Linked DNA regions of Homo sapiens: all the other regions are linked to region 2. Evidence: promoter capture Hi-C in 16 types of primary human blood cells and fetal thymus (Javierre and others, 2016). All regions are on one chromosome and are shown on one strand. The core of a region is centred on a gene start or on the middle of the fragment in contact, and the rest is flanking DNA. Distances in the headings are between cores, read along the strand shown.

Region 1 (3,869 bases), core at 534-3,033, 350 kb after region 2:
GTGTTTCCCAGGCTGGAGTGCAGTGGCACAATCACGGCTTACTGCAGCCTCGACCTCCTGGGCTCAAGTGATCCTCCCACCTCAGCCTTCCAAGCAGCTGTCACTACAGGCACATGCCACCATGCACTGCTAACTTTTGCATTTTTTTGTAGAGTTGGTGTTTTGCCATGATGCCCAGGCTAGCACTGTAATCTTAACACTGCCTTATATATTGCTTATTAGATACACCTTTGTGTACATGTGTGTTGTTTTCGATTAAAATTTCCTAATTATGAGGATAAGACCTTTTATTCTTATTTCTGTTTTTTCATTTTTTATTTTTAGCTCCGACTCAGATTTTGAACGGATGTTTGCATGTATACCACAGTGCTACATTAAAAACCAGTCATGTGGATGTGGAGAAGGGTGCTGATCAGGACTCCCTGTTTGCTAACAAATTCTACAGCAGAAACAAAGTATTAAGGTTTGCAGCCAGGAAGCAAGTGCATGGGGAATAAGCCTGCAGCTTCTTCCAAATGAGACAGAGCCAAATCTTTTTTCTGAGTCTGTTTTCTTCATTTCTATTAAACCAAGGTCCTTTTTAAGCAGTCGAATTTCATCCAAAGCCAGAGTGAGCTACTTTGTTTGGGGGAACAGTAACAGTTACCTCCACCACTGACTGGCTGCCATCTGGATTGATCCGGAAAGATCCCATCTGAATGGTCTTCTTGGGGTCCACCTGGGCAATTTCCCATTCTAGTTCATCCACCAGAGCCCTGCATGCTGGTGGAAGAGGAGAGAATGAGAGCAGGGGACAGGGTAGGGGGTAGGGTGTGAGGAGAATGGGATCAACCCAGGATTTCCATTCATCCTTCTCCCAGGCCTTGGATCTCATGCCCTCCCAAGGCTCTGCTTCCTCCACTTCTTTTTCCCGTTGTGCCTTTACCTCCACAGTGGAGATCCTGGCTCCTCCGAGCCCAGGCGGTTCCCAGCAGGGCCCCCAGAAGCAGGGCCAGCCAACCCCAGCCTTTCATCTTTAGCGTAATGGGGTCGCTCCACCTGGGTTTGAGTGGGAATAAAACATAAGTGTGAGGAGCCGACTCCATTTTTCCCTGACCCCCCCAATCCTCACCCCAAGGCTTTCAAAGGCCTCATTGTGACTCTGGCTCTACTTTCCAGGAAATGGCCGGGACACAAAGGGGCTTCTCTGTTCCAGCGCTTGAGGGCTCTGATTCCCCCAGGGTGGTGGGTGGGAGCGCGAGCTCAGGACTTGCGGCTCAGCCCCAGACTCTACGTGGATAGGTGAGGCCCTAAGTGTTGGTACTTTAGCACTGCATGCCTAGGGTTCACGGGGCTTTGTGGCAGCTACAGGAGGTAAGTTGGCGATTACGTGAGGACTACAGGCACTAGGGAACTGCCGGCAGGGAGCCCTCAGTCAGGCCAGGAGGCCAGCGAGGAGAGCAATAACTAGGGCCCATTTGGATCCTGCACCGAAGATTCCTGCGTCCCCACCTCCAGCCCGTAAGTGATTACCCGTACGGACACCAGCCCCCTTTCTAAGGACTCCGCCATTGCTTTCGCTTCAGTCCATCCCCAACCCTCAGCGCCCAGCGCCTCGCCGCCCGCATCCGTCCCACCTCTGCTCCCAGGGCCGCCGCCGTGGCCCAAGCGCTGGAAGACCGCTGGACTCTCACTTTGGCCCCAGTGGCTCCCGAAACTACACCTGGCTGCAGGGAGCAGGGCTGTCCGGGATTCTCCAGAGCGCTTCGCCGCCTGCCACACACGGGGTGTCCCGGCGACCGCCTGACCCAGCTCCCCTGACGCTAACTGGTACCTAAGCGGGACTCCAGCGTGCTGCGGTGCGAGCCCCAATCAGACACCGACCCCAAACCCGCCCCTCCAAACTCTCGCGCGAACAGGCAGCTTAGGAGAGGCTCCCGAACAGCAAGGACCCCGGTCAATCGCCGAAGGACCCAGACTTGCGTGGCGAACAGATCCACGTGACCACCAGGGGTCAGCCGTAGAATAGGAGTGGCCTTAAGCGACGACAGAGTCCGGGCGTGCTGTATGGGAGCGGCTAGTCGTGCGCGTGAGCCAGCCCAGGTGGGCTAGGACCTTCAAAACGGTGCGCTGCCGGCCAGCGAGCAGTCCAGGTTTCAATACACAGGAAACTACATCTCCCAGGAAGCACCGCAGCACCGGACCCATCTTTGTGAGCAACTACAAGTCTCAAGCTATCCTGGGACCTGTAGTTTGTCGGCTTACACAATTAACGGAAACCATACTGTACATCTTCAGTCTGACTTAGGGTACTGGGCAGCTATAGCAAAGACCCAGCATTGCCCAGAAAAGGCATAAATTATACCTTTTTCCCCTTTTTTTGAGACGGAGTCTCGCCCTATCGCCCAGGCTGGCATACAGTGGCGTGATCTCGGCTCACTGCAACCTCCGCCTCCCGGGTTGAAGCAATTTTCTGCCTCAGCTAGGGTTACAGTCGCCATCCACCACTCCCAGCTAATTTTTGTATTTTTAGTAGAGACGGGGTTTCACCATCTTGGTCAGGCTGGTCTTTAACTCCTGACCTCGTGTTCCACCCACCTCTGCCTCCCAAAGTGCTAGGATTACAGAAGTGAGCCACCGCGCCCGGCCTAATTATACCCTTTCATATCCATAACTTTGGATTCCGGACCTTTACCTTCAAAGGAAGGAGAGGAAGACTGAAGCCAGAGAACCCACACTAGCAGTTCTCTAATGAGATAAATAACAAACGATATTTTATTTTTATTTTATAAAACATGCAGTTTACAACAAATTTTTAAAAAATGGAACAAAACTTGGGACAGGCAAGTGGGATGGAAGACAGATGCTTCTCAGCCATCAGCAGGAATAAATGAAGCCGGCAGCCAAGCTTTGTCCAGGATCCAAAGGCCCTTTTGGCAATGGTATTGGCAACACTGGTTTGCTTGGGCCACCAACACTCTACTTGCTGGCCCCTCCAGGTATCCCTGAAGCAGTTGGTGACTTGTGCTAAGTCTTGAACTACTGTGGTATCCTCTGTCACTGTCCAGGACTTCAATCCCTAGCCAGCTAGGAACTTACAGTTATGGTTCCAGGAGCTTCTCTGCCTGGATATTAGTCACCCAGGATATTAAGAATACCAATTACTTTCCATCTGGGTCAATTCTAGACTCCATGTCTGTACCACTGTTTTGCAAAGAATGAAGAAGGAATGAATCTGGCTCCTAGAACCTTTGCAACAATTCTGCTGTGTTCCAGTTCAATTAATAGCACCATCTGTGACCCTAGACCCTGAGCACGTCCAGTACTGGAAGTGGACAAGGTATAGCCAACTTAGGAAGCCATCTCCCAGTTCTGGGGCTATAGAACAGTAAAGGGAGAGGGCCGTGGTTCTTTGGGAAGGGTAGTCAGAGCGCCAGCACTGAGGAGAAGACAGCTGCATCTGTCAGAGACAAAACCAAAAGCATGATTCAAGCTGAGTGGAGAAAAAGCATCTTCTCATACTTCCTATGAAGGAAAAATGCAAGAGAAAAAAGGGCATGGACCTTCCCTGAACATTTTAGACTTGGGCAAGAGGAAGTTATAGTTAATGGAGAGTTTCGATAAAATGTATTTTACTGAATGTTAGGAGGATGAAGTGCTTTGTAAACTGTTAAGTGCTATTCTCCATATGTGCAATCAAAATCCACCCAATTGGGGGCGCTCAGGCTCATGCCTGTAATCCCAGCACTTTGTGAGCCCAAGGTGGGTGGATCGCTTGAGCCCAGGAGTTTAAGACCAGCCTGGGCAACATGGCAAAATCCTGTTTCTACAAAAAGTACAAAAATTAGCTGGGTGTGGTGGTGTGTGCCTGTTGTCCCAGGTACTTGGGA
Region 2 (3,478 bases), core at 255-2,754:
TCAAGCAATCCTATGACCACGGCCTCCCAAAGTGCTGGGATTACAGGTGTGAGCCACTACACCCGGCCTCCTTATCTCTTTTCTTTTCTTTTCTTTTTTTATTTTTTTGAGACAGAGTCTTGCTGTTGCCCAGGCTGGAATGCAATGGTGTGATCTCGGCTCACTGCAACCTCTGCCTCCCAGGTTCAAGCGATTCTCATGCCTCGGCCTCCCAAGTAGTTGGGATTACAGGTGCGTACCACCATGCCCAGCTAATTTTTGTATTTTTAGTAGAGATGGAGTTTCACCATATTGGCCAGGCTGGTCTGACCTCAAGTGATCCACCCGTCTCAGCCTCTCAAAGTGCTAGGATTACAGGCATGAGTTACTGTGCCGGGCCTCATCCCCTTTCTTTTTTTTTTTTTTTTTGAGACGGAGACTCGCTCTGTCACCCAGGCTGGAGTGCATTGGTGTGATCTTGGCTCACTGCAACCTCTGCCTTCTGGGTTCAAGTGATTCTCCAGCCTCAGCCTTCTGAGTAGCTGGGACTACAGGCATGTGCCACCATGCCCAGCTAATTTTTGTACTTTTAGTAGAGACGGGGGTTTCACCATATTGGCCAGGCTGGTCTCGAACTCCTGACCTCGTGATCCACCTGCTTCAGCCTCCCAAAGTGCTGGGATTACAGGCGTGAGCCACGGCGCCCGGCCTCATTCCCTTTCTAATGTGTGCTGTAACCCTAGTTGATTCTGCTGGGGGAGGATCTGGAATCATCTATTGAGCATCCCACCACTAGAACAAGAGAAGTCATAAGATACCCCATTCTTTCTCCACTTCCAACTCTCCTCAGAGCAGCACGGGACATTCCAGACCCTCTCACCACCCCACCCCCGCCCCTTGCTCCTGTCACGAGGCCCAATCCCCCAGAGCCCTTTCATGTGATGCTCAGCTGAGACCCCTCTGCCTATCTCTCCAGCCCCAGAACAAAAGGTCTGGGCTGTGTTCACCCGTACCCATCCCAAGAGGAGAGGATTGTATCTCCTTAGTGTTCTTACCCAATACCACATTCTCTGACTCCCCACTTTAAATCTCCTACCCCAAGAGACGTTTCCTAAAAGAGTCTCCTGCACATTTCACCCCTTTGGAGCCCGTGCTCCAGCTCACTGCCAAGGAAGCCTCAGAATCAGTGCCACAGAGACCTTCTATCCTTCTGCCCCTCCAAGCATATGAGATTATTTTCAGGCAAAATCCCAAATCTCCATGTAGGGAGGGAGCCCAGGTGCCCACATCCTCACTAAATCAAATGAGTGGGAGACGCCTGAAATATTGCCGCTATCTCCCATTAGGAGGACAGAAACCAGAGCAGGGGGAATTCATCCCCAAGTTCACACCTGCTCATGTCCACATATCCACACATACCTTTTGTAGCCCCCACAGCCAGCAAAGCACCTATCACAGCCAAATGAAGAAGGCATCTTTTTAGCACCAGATCCATTGTGTTCTTCCCTCCAGCAACCAAAGGCACTGGGGGGACTGGGATAGGCCCCTATATAAGAAAAGGGTGCTCATTTGCATAGCCCTTCCTCTTCTCCCTCAGAGAAGGCCTGGGAGGGGCCGGAGGAGAGGAAAAAGGAAAAACTGACAAAGGGATCCTGGTCCCTAGACATTGCTTTCCCATCCTGCTACTCAATGACAGTTTCTGGTTTCACTGGGTCACTCTCATCTTGATGCACTCCCGGGCAAGAGCTAACTGAAAGGCAGCTGCGTAACACATACCAGACACAACAGTTTATCATGGGAGAGTGAATTAAACCAGGAACTTCTCAAAAAGACAGAAACAGAACCCTGCATCCCAAAACAGAGACAGTGTCGGGGTATGCTATGAGGCAGAGGCAACGACTCCTCTGAGGCCCAGGATTCCTTTGCAACGAGATTCCCGGCTTCCTGGTTTCCAAAGGAGGCTCCTGGGCCAGGTGGAATTTAACCTTAGGTCGATACATATTTTCCCCAGGATTGGTGAAAATAGTGAGTTAGAAATCAAGAAATCCCTACAGACTAGAGACATAGGTAGGAAACTTGGACCCAAAGCAGGTACTTGGGAAGAGTGTTCAGCCGCCCCACCGGGGAAGAAACTTGTCTAGCCCCCAAGAACCAAACTTGCCTGGGGCGGGATCATTTGCGGGGAGGAGCGCTGGGCTCGCCCCCCGGCTCTGACGTTGACCAATAGAAAGGCCTGGGGGCGGAGCCAGGGAAACGCGGGAAGCAGGGGCGGGGCCTCTGGTGGCGGTCGGGAACTCGGTGGGAGGCGGCAACATTGTTTCAAGTTGGCCAAATTGACAAGAGCGAGAGGTATACTGCGTTCCATCCCGACCCGGGGCCACGGTACTGGGCCCTGTTTCCCCCTCCTCGGCCCCCGAGAGCCAGGGTCCGCCTTCTGCAGGGTTCCCAGGCCCCCGCTCCAGGGCCGGGCTGACCCGACTCGCTGGCGCTTCATGGAGAACTTCCAAAAGGTGGAAAAGATCGGAGAGGGCACGTACGGAGTTGTGTACAAAGCCAGAAACAAGTTGACGGGAGAGGTGGTGGCGCTTAAGAAAATCCGCCTGGACACGTGAGTGGCCTCTGTACCCGGGACTCCTAACTGGGGACCTCCTTGATTGTCCCCCCCAACCCCCCACGGGCGGGTAGCCGTCCAGGGACCGGAAGAGAGCAGGGAGGGACTTCTTTAGAAGTGGAGAGGTGGGTTGGGGGCCAGTAGAAGGTGAAGAGTATACTTATACTCCCTGGGGAGAGTATAGGGTGGTGTGGAATCCATGGAAAACTTTCTTCCCAAACTGAGCCGGATCGTGCCCCCAAATGTGCGACTACAGACTCGGGGAGAGAAAGGAGGTCTCTGAGATGAGGTCCAAGACTCTCCATGGAGTGGAGTTATGTGGGAACCGGCGAGAATCGCCTTTCTGAATGAAGAGCCCTCTTCACTGCCCCACCCTCACCTTAGAATTCTCTCCTCTTTCCAAAGAATGGCAGTTGAACCTCACTGGCCCCTCTGGGGAGGCTGGGGGCTACTCCTGCATTTTTTCCCCTCCATTACAGTCTCCCTGCTTCACCTTCACCAGGCGGCTTTACTTACCTACCCCTGGGAAAAGAGGAGATAATGGCCTTAATATATCCAAAAACCACACCCTGACTACCCAAGAATTAGCTCTTACCATCACCCTTTCTCTTCTCTCACTTTCCTAGGGGGTGCTGGGTGGTGTCTCCTTGGGGGAAAGAAATGACTAGGTGGGGGGGAAAGGAATATTTGTAACCATATTCCCATCTCTGCTTTCCCAACCTCTCCAAGTGAGACTGAGGGTGTGCCCAGTACTGCCATCCGAGAGATCTCTCTGCTTAAGGAGCTTAACCATCCTAATATTGTCAAGTAAGTATGCGTCTGAGAGGTGATCCAGCTGGAAAGGAGGATAAGTTCTGTCTGTACAGTGTGGGCATTTCTCTCTCTCAC
Region 3 (3,903 bases), core at 1,108-3,607, 290 kb before region 2:
GCTCCTGTGACAGTGGCATCAATACATTCATGAGGGCAGAGCCTTCACAATTTAATTGCCCCTGAAAGGTCTCCTCTCTCAATACTGTTATATTGAAAATGAAATTTCGACATGAGTTTTGGAGGGGATATTCAAGTCACATGGCACTGACCATGTGACTCTTTCCCATTTCCTATAGGACAAGAGGCAAACCCCATAGATTAGTGTATAAGATCCTCAATGACATAGACATTTCTCAATGATATGGGTCCTTTCTCAATGATATGGGTCCTTTCTCAATGATATGGACCTTTCATTAATACATCTACTAAATGTGTATTGAGTGGTCCCTGAAACAGGCACTAGAAATGGCCCTGAAGATATTACCATGAAGAGAAAAATATACTCTGGCATTGTAGAGCTAACATGCTAGAGGAGACAGCCAATTTTAAAATATAGACAAGCCAGGCCTGGTGGTGCACACCTGTAGTCCCAGGTACTCAGGAGGCTGAGGCAGGAGGATCCCTTGAGGGCAGGAGTTCGAGGCCACAGTGCTGTAATCACACATATGAATAGCCACTGCACTCCAGCCTACACAACAGAGTGATACACCATCTATAAAATTAAATTAAAATATAGAAAAATTTAAAAGCTTAAATGTGATAAAGGTATTCATCATCTATTTGACATACACATTTTTAGTGTCTACTACTTGCCAGGCACATGCTAGATGCTAAACACGTGGTGATAAGGGAAAAGGACACAATCCTTACTGTTATGGAGCTCATGGGCAGACACTAATACCATAATAACAGTCATGAACAGTATCACAAACTGGCCTAAGGGCTGTTGACCAAAATGAATAAGGGAAGGGATGCTTGATACAAGAACCAAACAATGAGTTAAAAAATTAACTAGGCAGGAGGGAGGAGGGACTGCTGAAAAGAAAGCAAGCATATCAGGAAGAGGAAGACAAGCTCAACAGCACTGAAGCTAAAAGGAGTGAGAGTATGAGGAACTGAAAGAAGATTGTATAGCTAAAACACAGGGTTAAGGGAGGGTAGCATGAGAGGTGGACAGGGGCCAGATCACACAGGGCCTTATGGGCTACAGTAAGGAGTTCAGATTTTGTACCAAAGATAATGGGAATCCACTAAAAGGTTTTAAGCAGTGGGTGAAAGTGGAGAGACAGTTAATGAGGCCCTTGCAGTGGGCCAGGCAGCGGAGGGTCATGATCTGGTCTAGGGTTATGCCAGTGGAGATGAAAGAAATGCATGAAATTAATGAACTGGGAAATAGAGCTGACAGGACTTGTGAGTAACTTGAAAGTTATATATATATTGGCCGGGCGCGGTGGCTCACACCTGTAATCCCAGCACTTTTGGAGGCCAAGGCAGGCAGATCACGAGGTCAAGAGATCGAGACCATCCTGGTCAACATGGTGAAACCCTGTCTCTACTAAAAATACAAAAATTAGCTGGGTGTGGTGGTGCGTGCCTGTAGTCCCAGCTACTCAGGAGGCTGAGGCAGGAGAATTGCTTGAACCCAGGAGGCGGAGGTTGCAGTGAGCCGAGATCGCCCCACTGCACTCCAGCCTAGCAAAAGAGCGGGACTCTGCCTCAAAAAAAAAGAAAAGAAAAGAAAGTCATATATATGTTATAGAGAGATACAGATGGAGATGAAATGACATGATGTTTGGGATTTGCTTCAAAATGACACACAGGAGAAGGAAGCAGAAAGTAGAAAAGGATGTGGATGGGGAAGGATTGGCTGTGGGTTGATAGTTGTTGGGATGAATGATGTATACATGGGGGTATCTTATACTGTTCTGCCAACTTTTGTGTATATTCAAAATTCTCCATTATACAAAGTTAGAAATGAGAAAAGAAAAGGAGGAGACAGAGAAGAAATAGAATAAATCCTAGGTTTTTGGTTGAGCAATCAAGAAGCTAATGGTGCCATTCACTGAGATGATGAAGAAGATGGGCAGAGTAAGACAAGAGACTTGGGGAGTACCGTAAGTGTCATTTTGGACATGTTAAGTTTTATATGTCCAGAAGATATGCTGAGGAGGAGGATCAAGTACACAACTGGGTATACAAATTTGAAACTCAAAGGAAGGATCTGCACTAAAGATATAAATGTGTGAATAATTTGCATATACATGGCATTTTAAACCATGAAAATGGATGGGATTTGGTGAAAATTATGTGTCAATGTAGGTTCATCAATTGTAATAAATGTCCACTCTGGTGGGGGATACTGATAATGAGGAAGGCTAGTCATGTGTGAGGACAAAGGGTATGTGGAAAATCTCTGTACTTTCCTCAACTTTTCTATGAAGCTAAAACTGCTCTAAAAAATAAAGTCTATATTAAAAAAAAAAAGATGAGGTTATTTAATGAGAGAATTTAGACAGAGAAAGACCCAAGACTAAACCCAAAGAAACAAAATTTAAAGGTCGAGTAGATGAGAAAGATCTAAAAAAAGAAGTTTCTAAGAAGTAACAGCCACGGGAATGTTATAGAAACAAGAAGACTGTTATGTTAGGACAGCCTAGATGAGAGAATTTTTCAAGAAGAAATAGTAGCCAACTATTTCTGAAGCTGTTGAAAAGTCAGATAAGATGAGAACAGGGAATATTCACTGGACCTGGCATGTGGAAATAATTAATAGGCTTGATAATAATAGTTTCGGGTTTCTTTGTTTTGTTTTGTTTTGTTTTTAGAGACAGGGTCTCTCTCTGTCTCCCAGGCTGGAGTACACTGACCCAGTCATGGTTCACTGTAACCCTGAACTTGCAGGCTCAAGCAATCCCCTTGCCTCTGCCTCCTAAGTAGCTGGGGCTACAGGCGCATGCCACCACACCCGGCTAATTGGCTAATTTTTTTATTTTTTGTAGAGAAAAACAACAGCCTATGTTGCCCAAGCTGGTCTCAAACTCCTGGGCTCAAGCAGTCATTTCCTCTCGGCCTCCCAAAGTACTTGGATTACAGGCACGAGCCACCACGCCCGCCCAAAGTCATAATTCTTGAGTCATCTGCTCGTGTTATCTTGGTTTCCTCACCTTCCATTCACTCTTTCTCCCACTCCAATCCATCACTAATAAAAATTTCTTGGGCTTGGCACAGTAGCTCACGCCTGTAATCCCAGCACTTTGGGAGACCAAGACAGGAGGATGGCTTGAGGCCAGGAGTTCAAGATCAGCCTGGGCAACCCTGAGAGATACCCTGTCTCTACAAAAATTTTTAAAAGTTAGTAGGCATGGTGGTATGCACCTATAGTCCTAGCTACTCAAGAGGCTGAAGCAGGAAGGGCAGCACAACCCCAGGAGTTTGAGGCTGCAGTGAGTCAGAATGGTGCACTCCAGCCTAGGCAACAGAGCAAGATCCTGCCAAAAAAAAAAGACTTTGACATAGATTTGTAAAATGGAGTTTTAGCTAAAGTGACATGTGGTGTCAAGAGGGTCAGTTTATTATTAACCTGAAATATATTAGAGCATATTCATATTTTGAAAGATCCATGGAAAGGCAGAGATTAATGATTTAGGAGAAAGAAAGATAAAATGAAGACAAGAATTCATAGCAGCATTGTTTATAGTACCCCAAAAGTGGAAACAACCCAAATGTCTATCAACTGTTGAATAAATAAACAAAATGTGGCATATCTGTACAATGCAATGCTACTTGGACGTAAAAGGAATGAAGTATTGATACATGCTACAACATGTGTAAACTTTGGAAGCATTATGCTGTGTGAAAAGCCAGTCACATAGGCCACATGTAGTATGATTCCAATTACATGAAATGTCAAGAATAAGTAAATCCATACAGACATAAGTAGAGTAGTGATTGCCTACGGAAAGGAAATTGATGGTACTGGGGTTGGGATGGGGATGGGGGAAATGGGAGTAAGTGGTAAAAG

What was found. The method cuts DNA at HindIII sites, captures the fragments that hold promoters and counts their contacts. A CHiCAGO score of 5 or more calls a contact.
Region 1: a contact is called between the fragment with the promoter of CNPY2 here and the fragment with the promoter of PMEL in region 2, in 4 of 17 cell types (fetal thymus, naive CD8 T cells, non-activated CD4 T cells and 1 more). The highest score is 5.8, in fetal thymus.
Region 3: a contact is called between a fragment that was not itself captured here and the fragment with the promoter of PMEL in region 2, in 1 of 17 cell types (M2 macrophages). The highest score is 5.4, in M2 macrophages.

Annotation. Positions count from the first base shown.
Region 1 is chr12:56,314,205-56,318,073 of GRCh38, forward strand. It overlaps CNPY2 (canopy FGF signaling regulator 2), which reads right to left and starts at 1,784. Exons shown (of 6, transcript NM_014255.7): 1 at 1,617-1,784; 2 at 926-1,038; 3 at 647-762. The coding sequence starts at 1,013. It overlaps PAN2 (poly(A) specific ribonuclease subunit PAN2), which reads right to left. Exons shown (of 26, transcript NM_014871.6): 26 at 2,732-3,439. The coding sequence ends at 3,405. It overlaps CNPY2-AS1 (CNPY2 antisense RNA 1), which reads left to right. Exons shown (of 2, transcript XR_002957416.2): 2 at 325-604. RefSeq lists enhancers at 1,769-2,357, 1,858-1,907, 1,988-2,137. The HindIII fragment of the contact is 5,570 bases long and covers 1-2,885 here.
Region 2 is chr12:55,964,538-55,968,015 of GRCh38, forward strand. PMEL (premelanosome protein) reads right to left here and starts at 1,505. Exons shown (of 11, transcript NM_001384361.1): 1 at 1,399-1,505. The coding sequence starts at 1,474. CDK2 (cyclin dependent kinase 2) reads left to right here and starts at 2,293. Exons shown (of 7, transcript NM_001798.5): 1 at 2,293-2,587; 2 at 3,320-3,397. The coding sequence starts at 2,472. RefSeq lists an enhancer at 1,984-2,063. The HindIII fragment of the contact is 16,386 bases long and covers 1-3,478 here.
Region 3 is chr12:55,672,862-55,676,764 of GRCh38, forward strand. No RefSeq gene overlaps it. Among named protein-coding and RNA genes, the nearest start is that of TMT1B, 6.9 kb to the right of the region's middle. RefSeq lists an enhancer at 757-896. The HindIII fragment of the contact is 3,457 bases long and covers 630-3,903 here.